Linked DNA regions of Homo sapiens: region 2 is linked to region 1. Evidence: promoter capture Hi-C in 16 types of primary human blood cells and fetal thymus (Javierre and others, 2016). All regions are on one chromosome and are shown on one strand. The core of a region is centred on a gene start or on the middle of the fragment in contact, and the rest is flanking DNA. Distances in the headings are between cores, read along the strand shown. Region 1 holds the start of DNAJC3 (DnaJ heat shock protein family (Hsp40) member C3). Region 2 overlaps IPO5 (importin 5).

What was found. The method cuts DNA at HindIII sites, captures the fragments that hold promoters and counts their contacts. A CHiCAGO score of 5 or more calls a contact.
Region 2: a fragment that was not itself captured here is called in contact with the fragment with the promoter of DNAJC3 in region 1 in 1 of 17 cell types (total B cells); the score reaches 5.2 in total B cells.

What each region holds. Positions count from the first base shown.
Region 1 is chr13:95,671,938-95,678,723 of GRCh38, forward strand. DNAJC3 (DnaJ heat shock protein family (Hsp40) member C3) reads left to right here and starts at 5,202. Exons shown (of 12, transcript NM_006260.5): 1 at 5,202-5,400. The coding sequence starts at 5,319. It overlaps DNAJC3-DT (DNAJC3 divergent transcript), which reads right to left and starts at 4,988. Exons shown (of 2, transcript NR_132117.1): 1 at 3,915-4,988; 2 at 898-2,731. RefSeq lists enhancers at 4,292-5,139, 4,403-4,502, 5,140-5,986, 5,333-5,382 and silencers at 5,023-5,262, 5,493-5,582. The HindIII fragment of the contact is 3,320 bases long and covers 3,350-6,669 here.
Region 2 is chr13:97,966,904-97,972,960 of GRCh38, forward strand. It overlaps IPO5 (importin 5), which reads left to right. Exons shown (of 29, transcript NM_002271.6): 3 at 2,820-2,927. Among named protein-coding and RNA genes, the nearest start is that of IPO5, 16 kb to the left of the region's middle. The HindIII fragment of the contact is 4,000 bases long and covers 1,377-5,376 here.

The DNA.
Region 1 (6,786 bases), core at 3,952-6,451:
CGGACGATTCCCCTCTGGCTAAAGCTGATCTAAATGCTCCCTCCATGGGTGTTGGCAGCACTAAGTTTCAAGGCAAAGGCCCATAATTACTGTCCTTTCTCCTTCCACAAATGTACAAATTCTCTCTCAGTGCCACACAGTCACTGCCAGGGGATAGGGGAGGGGTGATGTTGGCAATTCAAGACTGCCTTTCCTACTCTCTTCAACGCCTCTGTCAGCAATATGCAGTTAAAACCAGGTACTGTGATTGTTCGCCTGATTTTTGGTTCTTATGAAGGTGCTTTTTTTGTGTAAATAGTTGTCAAAGTTGGTGTTCCTGTGGGGATGATGATCGGTGGAGGCTTCTATTTGGCTATCTTGCTCTGTCTTCCTCATGTTATTTTCAAAATCCATTTTGATTATGTCGTTTAATTATTGTGTTTATAACATTTATATTTAATGCAATTGTGTTTATATGTTTGGATTTAGATGTGAGAATCTGGAAAATAATAAGTTCTTATATTTGTGTTATTACAAAAATTTTATAAGATCAAACCTATTTAAAGACATGTCATTATGTCACTTAATTTAGAAATTAGAAAGCTTAAATTTTGAAGAGTTTACCCATTGTATATAAAATATAATATTGTACTTAGTTAATTTCTTATAAAATCAGAAGATATATAGCTGCCTTTAAATTAGTATTAACACATTCCAGTGATCAAAGATTCATCTATTTATCGGAAACAGTACATGAATCTTTTAAAATACAATTTTTACACTTTGTAGTCCAGAATTGTAATGTTAAAGACTCTTTAAATCACACTTCAAAACTTTTAGCTCATAATTATAATAACACAACCTATTATTTAAATGCACTCACTCACATTTTAAAAATAAAAAATACAGTGAACAGCATTTTTCTTTTAGATATTTTACTAGATTGTTTGGACTAGAATATAACTAGAATGTGTATGTAGCAATAGACATTTTAAAAACTCAAATAACCTACAATTTTCAAACTGAGAGAAAAAGAAGAACATCAAAAAGAGGAGAAAAGAGCTGGCTTAGGCAACTGTTATCTCTGTAAAGGGCTAATTCTCTTTCTTCTGCAAGGAAAGGAGATAAAATTCGATGCAGAAAAACTCATCTGTACACAAATACACAAAAGAGAGTCACTGCAGTTGATTTAAAAATACTCAGGCCCTTCACAATATTTTAAATAAACTTCTATTGCTGAAACAACTTTCAAGTAAGGGCATAAGGATAATACAGGGAGGTCCCAAATACCCCTTATTTTTCTGTATTGTTAGCATCTTGCATAACCATGGTACATTTGTCAAAACTAAGAAAGTAATAATGGTACACTACTATTAAACTTGAGACTATTCATATTTCAGTAGTTTTTCCACTAATGTCTATTTTCTCTAGGATCCAGTTCAACACAGCACACTGCATTCAGTCATCAATTAAGTTTCCTTAGTTTCCTCTGGTCTGTTACAGTATTTCAATCTTTCCTTGTTCCCCACGACGTTGATAGTTTTGAGGAATACTGATCAGGTGTTTTATAGAATGTCCTTCAATTTTAGTTTGATTTTTTTTTTTTCATGTTTAGACTAGATTGGGTTATAGGTTTTGAGAATACCACAGAGGTGAATTGCCCTTCTCATCACAGTATATTGGGAGTATATGCTATCAACATGACTTGATGATATTAACTTTGACCACCTGGCCAAGACAGTGTTTCCAGGTTTCTGTACTATGAAGTTACTCTCCTCCTCCCTTTCCATACTCTGTTCTTTGGAAGTTAGTCACTAAGTCCAGCCCACACTCAAGGAAGGAGGGAAAATAAGCTCCACCTGATGAAGGGGGACGTATTGTGTTAAGCTGAATAACGGTCCCCCAAATATGTTTACATTCTAATCTCCTGTCATTGTTCTATAGCAAAAGGCAGTTTTTGCAGATGTGATTAAATTGAGGAACTTGAGTAGGAAGAATATCCTGGATTATCTCAGCAGGCCCAATATAATTAATTACAAGGATCCTTGTAAGACGGAGGCAAGGTCAAAAATGACAGAAGGTGATGTGAATACAAAAGCGGAGATTATAGTCATGCGGCCAGAAGCCAAAAAACAACATAAAAGAGGGTGGAAAGCAGAGAAGACAAGATGTGATATAAAAGCCAAATTTTATATGAAGGTACCAAAATTTGATCAGAATCCCAAAATCCTTGAAAATAAACTGTAAATTTGACATATAAGGGTCATTTTTTGTTCCTCAGATTGGCAAAAACTGAAAATCAATTATATCTAGTGATGGTGACTAGGCAGGAATATAAACAGCTGATAGGAATAGAAATTATTCCTTTAGGGAAAGATAATCTGACAACGCATCTTAAAAGTTTAAACAAATTCTTTGATTAAGCAAGTTCAAAAACCTAGTTTTTTTTTTTTTTTTTTTTATAAAGTGTCACTCTGTTGCTCAGTCTGGAGTGCAGTGACATGATCTTAGCTCACTGCAACCTCAAACTCCTGGGTTGAAGCAATCCTCTGCCTCAGTCTCCCTGAGTAGCTAGGGCAACAGGCACGAGCCACCGCACCTGGCTAGTTTTAAATTTTTTTGCAGAGACAGGATCCTGCTATGTTGCTCAGGCTGGTCGCAAACTCCCGGCCTCAAATAATCCTCCCATCTTGGCTTCCCAAAGCGCTAGCATTACAGGTGTGAGCCACTGCGCCCAGCCTAGAAATGTTTCCTAGAAATAAAAGCACAAGTTTGTAAACATAAATGTGGAAGGATGTATATGGTGGCATTAACTTAATGCTGACTTTTTTGTTCTTAATTTGGCACAAAAAGGTGTTTATAAGTGCTCTACTTGTTTCTGAACATTTATTTCTCCTCATAGTTAATTCCTAAACAAATCTTATTCCCTTTACCTACAAAATATGTTCTAGATCTGTTCACTCCTCTCTACCAACATTGTTTTTCCTAGTCAATAAACATAGATCAACCTAATAAAAATTGCATAATACTCTTAATTTTGGATATATCATAAATATGCTACCATTGTTTTTTAAGTCTTTTGCTACTATAATTAACAGTATGAATTACAGTGGAGATTTAATGTTTAACTTCAAAAAGACTCCATAGAGTCTGACGAATGCAAACATATTTACAGTAACTTTTCTTACACTCACTAGATTACTTTGATTTTCGGTTTTATTGGCAAGAGTGATTCGTGAAAACCATGACTAGATGAACATTGGAGGAAACATTCCCAAGCATTAATCACTTAATTTTAGTTTTGTACATTTTTTTCTGTCTAATGTTACCTTTGTTGTAAAATTATCTTTTTTTAAGGAATGCTTTGTAAAGCTTAGTTCTAATATTACAGAATTCATAGTTATGTAATTAATCTCAAAATCACTCACCATTGAAGACCCTTGCTATTTTTATTTCCTATAACACGAAGTCTATTATCTCCTTAATAATTTTTAATTTCCATCCTTAGAACTTCTTCAGCTCTGCTACTTTTTCCTTAAGGCCAGGGTCATAGGCAGCACACTGGTGATAACTCACTGTCTAGAAATATTGCATTTTGTTTACAAAGTTATTTTCTATGTTCAGCATTTTGCTGGCTGCCTTGGGTACAGTACCTCAATTGAATGTCTACACCTGCATATTTGTGGACATTGAAATCATCTACCATTTTTCAGAGACACTACCTTGTGATATAAAAAAACAGAAGCCAAAAAAAAAAAAATCCCAAGGAATTTCTGAAGGAGCCTCTCTTCACTACTCTGCTCTTGTTAGAATAATGAGTAACACTGGTATAACATTCTACAATTTACAAGAATATTTATCTGCTTCATGAAACCTCAAAACAAACCTTTGAGACTATCAGGATCCTAACCACTTTACAGATGAAGATAACTTACATAATAGTTATGGGGTTTCCTGGATCTGACTCCTTTATTCTTCACATTACATTATGTTGCCTTCCCCACAACTAATCAAGGACTCCGTTTTTTCTTTTTTCTTTCTCGAAACCATTTCCTCCATATTAGTTCCCTTTGGAATAGAAGCCTTTTTAAAAGTCCACCTTAGTATATCTTCAGGGAATCACAAATTCACTATGCTATTTATAATTCATGAGTTTCTCTAATGGTATCAAGGCAGCAAATACAGGTGAAGTAATAATTATCCACCTGATAGTACTTAACACACATACCCCGTGTAAAAATACTGCTGGTGTACAGTGTGTGTGTTGGTGACGCCGGAGGAAGTGGCCGTGAACAGGCTTAATGCCGCATTGAGTAACTTCAACCTCATCTTGCTCAGGTTCATATCTCTCCTGAATTTCCCCTGGTAAGCGCAAGATTCAGGATCCGTTCTCACAGTTTTTTGTTTACCAGTTGATGTTGGCTGCATTCAGGAACGCCTTGCTCTCTTAAGCCACAGTGCCTTCCTGGTCTCTTCTTCACAGGGTCTTCCACAATCGCTCTTTTTCCTGGGCACGGTGGTTTGCTGAAAGTCGGGGTGGGGGGCGGGGCGTTCCCAAGTTTCCAGGCCAATTACCTACCTGCCTTAGAGCAATTACGCACTTCTCTCTGGTAGTCCCTGAAATGTTCTAATCATCAGATCGCCCCAGCTTCTCCTGACCGTTTCTTGCTTACGGCTCAGTTCAGACAGTATTTGTTCCGGGACGCTCAGCGGGAGGCGGTTTTTACCGGCTCACTCGAGACCCCAATTCCAGGCGCCCTGCAGCTTCCCTCAGACTCCCCGGGACCGTGTTTGGCCTTCCCATTCGTACGCTGCGGCTGCGCTTTCCTCTCGTAACACCACGCTGGCGAACCTGGAAAGGATCAAATAGTCCCACTCGCCAACCTAGCGCGGCGGGACCGGCCCAAAAGGGCCTTTGCAGCCTGCGCATGCGGACTCGGCGGCCGCCACCGACTCCCCGTCTGCTTCCCTCCGGGCGGCAGCCGCGGTTTGGAGCTTGCTGACAGCTCTGCGACCGGCGGGCGCAGCCTCGTCTCGTGCTTCCACGTTATCCTATCAGGGACGGGGCGGGGCGGCGGCCTCCGCAGCCTATCAGCGCGAACCACGACCCCGGCGAGCCCGGGAGGAAAGCCGCCAGAAAGAAGGCGATTGGATGGCGGCGGCGCTCTGGGGCGTAGCGTCGCCCGGGCCCCGCCCACCGCTGCCTTCCTCTGCTGGGCTCCAGAGCCACTGAGGCCTGAGCGAGAGCCGACGGCGGGCGGGCGCAGCTGCTGCCGGAGCGCCGGCGCGTGCTGGTGGGCCACACACCTTTCCTCCTCTTCACTCGCGAGCCCTCGGACATGGTGGCCCCCGGCTCCGTGACCAGCCGGCTGGGCTCGGTATTCCCCTTCCTGCTAGTCCTGGTGGATCTGCAGTACGAAGGTGAGTCCTGCCCTGCCCCGGCCAGGAAGTGGGCTCCCGGACCAGGCCCCCCGCGCTTTCCCGTCTGCGCCCGGGCGCCTGTCCCGGAGCGGCTCGGGAGGTGGGGCGAGCGCTGGGGGAGCCCGCGGCCTGGCTTGGGCCTGAGCCCGCGCCCGGTTCCGGGTTTGTCTGGGGAAGAATCGAGGGGACTGGCGGGCCGCGGGGCCGGGACAGCGGGTTTGGACTAAGGAACCGGGCCGCAGGAGTCGGAGGAGGCGGGGTGCGGGGGCACCGGGCTACGACTTCAGGAAGTCCTGGGACGCGGAGACTTGGGCAGCCTTTGGGTCCTGGCCTCGCTTGGGACCCTCGCTGGGCGCCTGGGGACACTGTCAGTCATTGGTGCTGGCTGGGAGGAGGCACTAAGGTGGCCAAAAGACTTCCTTCGCTCTGGAGTTCTTGGGTGGGGAAGGAGTGTCATGTCCGGCTGGGAGTTGGAGGGGACAGTGTTGACTATTTAAAAAGTGTGTAACCATCCCCATTAAGATGCACTGTCGTGTAGAGAAATTGTTAGTTTGGTGCAATGAGGAGCCGCTGTTGGAATTCCATCTCCCGGACGGCCAGGCACTGAGTTTGTGGTTTTACAACTCCCAACATGGTGTCATTCAACGTATGGCTGGCATTACTTTTCCAAGTTCGCTGTAAAAAGGTTCCCTTAAAAAGATACGAACGATTAAATTTCACTTCAGTCCTGCAGACTGGAATGTTGGCTACTCCAGAATAGCGAAAATAGAGGGCTGTCCTATCTTAGATGGCAGCGGGGAGGAGTAAGAATTAAAGTTGATAGTGCCGATTTAACGAATGCTTCTGGCGCGGTTACTGTGCGAAATATTCGAGTGTAATGACACATCACATGCACTGATCTATTTTCATCCCCATAAAAAGGGCTAGTTGTCAAGGAGGTCAAATTAAACCTTTGAGTATTCCATTCAAAGGGAGCGAGGAACTAAAAATTGGGAATTGTTTATAGTGAATTCTTCTGAAAGTTCTCAACTTTTTTTTTTAAAGTAGTACTCCCCAGTTTTTAGGTGTCACCCATAGCAATGGGCTTTTGCTTTTGCTTCCCCTGGTAACCATATTTTTTGAACCCCAAATCAGAACACGTAGTGTGGCAACATTGGGACAAAGAATTTGACAGTGAGGCTGCCCCCAGAAAAATCTAGGGGATTGGAATTTGAAGGTCTGTACCACTTTAATATGGGTCATATATTCTAGTTCTTTTGCATTTTCAAAAGCTTCATTCCTCCTGCCCCCGCACCCCACCATCCCTCATCTGTAGTATTTATCTCCAGTTATCATTAATAATTTATTTTGGACACTTAAGAGAAAGTTGCCTATGTTCTGTTTAAT
Region 2 (6,057 bases), core at 2,127-4,626, 2.3 Mb after region 1:
TGTGTGCCTATAGTCCCAGCTACTTGGGAGGCTGAGGCAGGAGAATTGCTTGAACCAGGGAGGCGGAGGTTGCAGTGAGCTAAGATCACGCCACTGCACTCCAGCCTGGGTGACAGAGCAAGACTCTGTCTCAAAAAATAATAAAATAAAATAAAATAACTAATTCAATAGTTTTACTTGCTGTAGATCTATTCATATTTTCTATTTCTTCGTGAATCACTTTTGATTTGCGTTTTTCTAGAAATGTGTCCATTTCCTCTAGGTTATCTAATTTGTTAGCACACAATTGGGTACAGTATTCTAATTCTTTTTATTTCTGAAAGCTGGGTAGTGATGTCTCCTCTTTCATTCCTGATTTTAGTATTTGAGTCTCCTCTTTTTTTTCCTGGTCAGTACAGCCAAAAGTTTGTGAATTTTGTTGATCTTCTCAAAGAAACAATTTTGGGTTATTTTTATTTTCTCTTTTTTAATTTTCTATTTCATTTATTTCCTTTTAGTCTTCTTTCTCTTTTTCTTCCTTTCTCTTTCTTTCTTGCTTTCTTTCTTTCAGCTTGTTGTGGATTTAGTTTGCCCTTCTTTCTTTAGTATCTAAGGAAGTAGGTTATTGATTTCTTCTTTTCTAATTGATAAGGACAGCTCTAAGTGTCCCTATGAGCATTGCTATCACTGCTATCCCATAAATTTTGGTATCTTATATTTTTGTTTTCATTCATCTGAAAGTATTTTCTGTTTGTTTGTTTGTTTGTTTGTTTGAGTCTCGCTCTGTCGCCCAGGCTGGAGTGCAGTGGCTCGATCTCAGCTCACTGCAAGCTCCGCCTCCCGGGTTCATGCCATTCTCCTGCCTCAGCCTCCCAAGTAGCTGGGACTACAGGTGCCCACCACCACGCCCGGCTAATTTTTTGTATTTTTAGCAGAGACGGCGTTTCACCATGTTAGCCAGGATGGTCTTGATCTCCTGACCTTGTGATCCGCCCACCTCGGCCTCCCAATATGCTGGGATTACAGGCATGAGCCACCGCACCCGGCTCAAAGTATTTTCTAATTTCTCTTGTGATTTTTTTCAATATAGAGAAGGGGTCTCACTCTGTCTGTCACCCAGGTTGGAATGCAGTGGTGCGATCATTGCTCACTGTAACTTTGAATTCCTGGGCTCAAAGGATCCTCCCACCTCAGCCTTCCAAAGCACTGTGATTAGAGACATGAGGCACCGTGCCAAGCCATCTTGTGATTTCTTCTTTGACGCACTTGTTATTTAGGAGTATGCAGTTTAATCTCTTGTGAATTTCTCAAATTTCCTTTTGTTCTTGATTTCTAATTTTATTCTGTTGTGGTCAGAGAACATACTTTGTTGGTTTCAATCCTTTAAAATTGACTGAAGCTTGTTTTACAGCCTAACATATGGTCTATCCTGGAGAATGTTCCATATTCACTTGAGGAAAATGTTTACTCTGCTGCTTTTGGGTGGAGTGTCTTACACTTGTCTTGTAGGTGTAGTTGGTTTATCTTATTCTTTGTCTTCCATTTATTATTGATCTATCTAGTTATCCTATCCGTTACTGAAAGGTGGGAACAGAAGTCTCAAACTATTTTTGTTGAATTATCTATTTCTCCCTTAATTCTGTCAGGTTTTGCTTTATGTATTTTGGTGCTGTTAGGCACATGTGTTTAAAACTGTTCTATCTTCCTGATTGAATTTTTTATTATAAAAATGTCCTCTTTATCTCTAATGACATTTTTTGTCTTAAAATCTATTTTGTCTAAAATTAAGAGAGCCATTCCACCTGCTTTTGTTTTTTTGTCTTTTTGAGATGGAGTCTTGCTCCGTCACCCAGGCTGGAGTGCAGTGGCACCATCTCGGCTCATTACAGCCTCTGCCTCCCAGGTTCAAACAGTTCTCGTATCTCAGCCTCCCAGGTAACAGAGTACAGCCGCCTGCCACTACACCCAGCTAACATTTGTATTTTTAGTAGAGACGGGGTTTCACCATGTTTGCCAGGCTGGTCTTGAACTCCCGACCTCAAGTGATCCACCCACCCTGGCCTCCCAAAGTGCTGGGATTACAGGCGCCTGCCACTACGCCTAGCTAAAGTTTGTATTTTTAGTAAAAACGGGTTTTCTCTATGTTGGCCAGGCTGCGTATCTGCTTTTGAATACTGTTTGCATGGTGTGTCTTTTTCTATCCTTTTACTTTCAACCTATTTGTGTTCTAAGAAAAATCATTTAACTTAGAAATGAAATCTTTCTGCTAAGTATATATATATATATATATATATTTTTTTTTTTTTTTTTTTTTTTTGATACGTAGTCTCGCTCTGTCACCCAGGCTGGTGAGCAGTGGCGCGATCTCAGCTCACCGCAAGCTCTGCCTCCCAGGTTCACACCATTCTCCTGCTTCAGCCTCCCGAGTAGCTGGGACTACAGGTGCCCACCACCACGCCCAGCTAATTTTTTTGTATTTTTAGTAGAGACGGGGTTTTACCGTGTTAGCCAGGATGGTCTCCATCTCCTGACCTCGTGATCCGCCTGCCTTGGCCTCCCAAAGTGCTGGGATTATAGGCGTGAGCCACTGCACCCGGCCTCTGCTAAGTATATTTTTATTTCAGGTATTAAAATGCAACAAATGATTTTTAAAAATCCATTTACCACTTTTAAATGAAAACAACATCAAGAAAAGGTATTTTTATTTTCTCCAACTCTTAACCAGTCTTTGATTTAACTGATAAGGATTTATTCTTCAAAATCAGATGTGATTTTTAAGAATATCATCTTCAAAATTAAGTACCATCTAATGGTCCACCATTCTGTTTCTGTCAAATCAGCAGAGGAAAGAAATTCCTAAGGGAACACTGCTCAGAAAGTACTGCAGCATGTCTTCAAATGCCTGAGGATCAAGTTGGAAAACTAGAAGCAACAGAAAACACAATAAGGTAACTGATTTCACCTGGGGAAAAGTCACTTCCTGTTTTGTTTTTTTTAAAAGAGACAAGGTCTCGCCATGTTGCCCAGGCTGGTCTCGAACTCCTGGTCTCAGGCAATCCTCCCACCTCAGCCTCCCAAAGTGCTGGGATTACAGGCGTGAGCCATCACACCCAGCCAAAAGTCACTTCCTAAATGTCAATGTACAAAGTATGTAGGACACCTATGTGTAGCTAGTTGGCTATTTTATTCTCCAGCAAAGCACTGCCCAATCGAAATATAATATGAGCCACAAATACAAATCACATATGCAATTTTAAAATTTCTAGTAGCCATATTTTTAACAAGTAAAAAAAAGTGAAATTAATACATTTAACAATAGTTTATCAATAAATATAACTATTTTATTTAACACAATATATTAACATTTCTACATGTGACCAATATAAAATTGTTATTCTTAATTTCCTACTAAGTCTTTGAAATTTACTGTGTATTTTACACTTAAAATATATCTCAGGCCAGGCTCAGTGGCTCACGCCTGTAATCCCAGCACTTTGGGAGGCCGAGGCGGGTGGATCACGAGGTCAGGAGTTCGAGACAAGCCTGGCCAAGATGGTGAAACCCCGTCTCTACTAAAAATAAAAAAAAATTAGCCGGGCATGGTGGCGGGCGCCTGTAATCCCAGCTACTTGGGGGGCTGAGGCAGGAGAATCGCTTGAACCCGGGAGGCAGAGGTTGCAGTGAGCTGAAATCGTGCCACTGCACTCCAGCCTGGGCGACAGAGTGGGACTCCGTCGCAAAAAAAAAGAAAAAAGCATACCTCAGTTCAAACACGCCATATTTCAATTGGTCAACAGTCATAATGGCTAGTGGCTACCATAATGAGCATTGCAACTGTAGCATTGAAAGCCAGAAATAGCCTTTAATAGCTCTGTGATAATCAAATCAAACTTGATTTTTTTCTTAACCACAATTATGATGCATTCCTGTAACATGACCACTTATATAATGAGAATATAAAAATGCAATAGTCTAACAGGTAGATGTCCAATCAAAATTAAAGTTACAAATTTTAGAGGTTGCAATCTGTATTAGCAATCACAGCCACTATCTATTAAGCATTTACTCTGTGCCCGGCACTACTGCCAGGTATTTTAATCAGTAGTAAAAAATACTTCTATTACACCCATTTCAGAGAAGAAGAAACTGGGCTTGAGACAGGTTACCTTGGGCAAGATCACACAGCATGTAGGCTGTGAAGCTATCATTTGAACTTGCACATTGGCCGGCTCTGGAGCCTCTGCTCCCAGCCTCCCTAAAATGAGTCCCTCCATCTGCAGATATCCACTGAATCTCAAATATAAAACTAAGAAAGGGCGCAAAAGAAAACAATCAAGTCAAAATTTCCCTGCCTGTGTTCCATTCCACAATTTACTGAGGGCCTATTGTGCACAGTGTCCTTCAGGATTGTTAGGGTCCCACTTGCCCCTGGCTGAGGTGCACTGACTGTATGTAACAGACTGCTTCAGAGCAGGAACTTGAAAGTTTTGATAAAAAGCAGTTGAAAAAAATGTGAATATTTCAGCATATTTTCAATAATTTTTCAACCATTCAAACTTTTTTTGCTGGCTCTTATCTAGGCAACAGAAAACATCAGTATTAGAGTCAGAAATCTTACTTATCAGCCAAGTGTCTATTGAATATCTGTAATCCATTCCATACACTATTTCACTCTGCACAATTGGGAGACTAATAGAAAATACGCAAGTAGATTTTATATAAACACAAATGTGATGCACATGACTATGCATCAGCTGCAGCCTTAAGAGTAATTACTTGTTTAAGGCCAGGCGCGGTGGCTCAAGCCTGTAACCCCAGCACTTTGGGAGGCCGAGGTAGGAGGATCGCTTGAGCCCAGGAGTTCAAGACTGTCCTGGGCAATATAGCAAGACCCCATCTCTAAAAAAACAAACAAAAAGAGTAATTACTTGTTTAAGGTCACATTTAACTCCCAAATCCATCTTACTAATAAAAGAGATAATTATTGAGTATCTACTTATGCAGACACCATACTATGTGAATTTACATATATTATCCTAACTTTCAAAACACTCCTATGAAGAACTATCATTCCAATTTTACAGATGAGAAAACAAAGCCAGCATTCTTTTTCATTGTACCAGGTTAATTATTAACAAAAATAATAATGCCATCAGCTTACATTGGTGTAGTTACAGATTATAACACTTTGATTTATACCATCTAAATTGACCCTCATAATAAATTGTGATATCAAGAGCATAGCGCTTACAACTACCAAGATAAGGAGTCATAGAGACCCGAGACAACTTAAAACAAAATTAGATTATTCACTTGGGAGAATCTTATGTTATTTGCATTCAGCACTCTGCAAACCAGAAAGGGCAGACAAAACCAAATTCTATCCCAGCTGAGAAAAGCTTTCACAGAGGTCTTACAAGCCTAACTTCTCCAACCTTCTCCCACTTCCAGAACACTCCCATCAACATGGGAGCCCATAAAACTAAGAGCAGTAGTGGGAGAGATTCTGATGCTCTCTAGTTAAGGAGCCTGGTCTCCTGCAGTATTACAAATAGGTCATGCCCAGGCTGTGCAGTACTTCCTAACAGCAAAAATCCTAAACTACCTAGATTTCAAGTAGCAGTTGAGAGAGACTTTGTTTTCTTTCCCCCAACCTCACCCTTTTCGTAAAGGGTTGCAAATGCTCCAAGCAAATTTGCCTCCAGCACTTAATGGAAGTAGTGCCAAGTCTAATAAACTGCAAGGGAAAGGAGCTGGCCATTCACAAGATAAACCACTAAGTACATTACTTCGGGGCAGTTTTGTTTTTGTTTTTTTATTTTAATGCGGCCAAAGCAATGGCAGCGAATACGGAGTAAGCAAAACTCAAAGTTTTCTATCCTTGCATTTTTACTTCCAATTATAAGTTAATGCTAGAAGAACTTTTATGATTAATAATATACTTTTTATTATCCCCATTTTATAGATGAGAAATTGAGGCTTAGCGACATTAAGCACTCAAGGTTACACAGCTAGTAAGAGACTAAAGATACAAATCCCCTAGACTCAAGTTCAAGGCTCTTTACCTTCCACCATTTG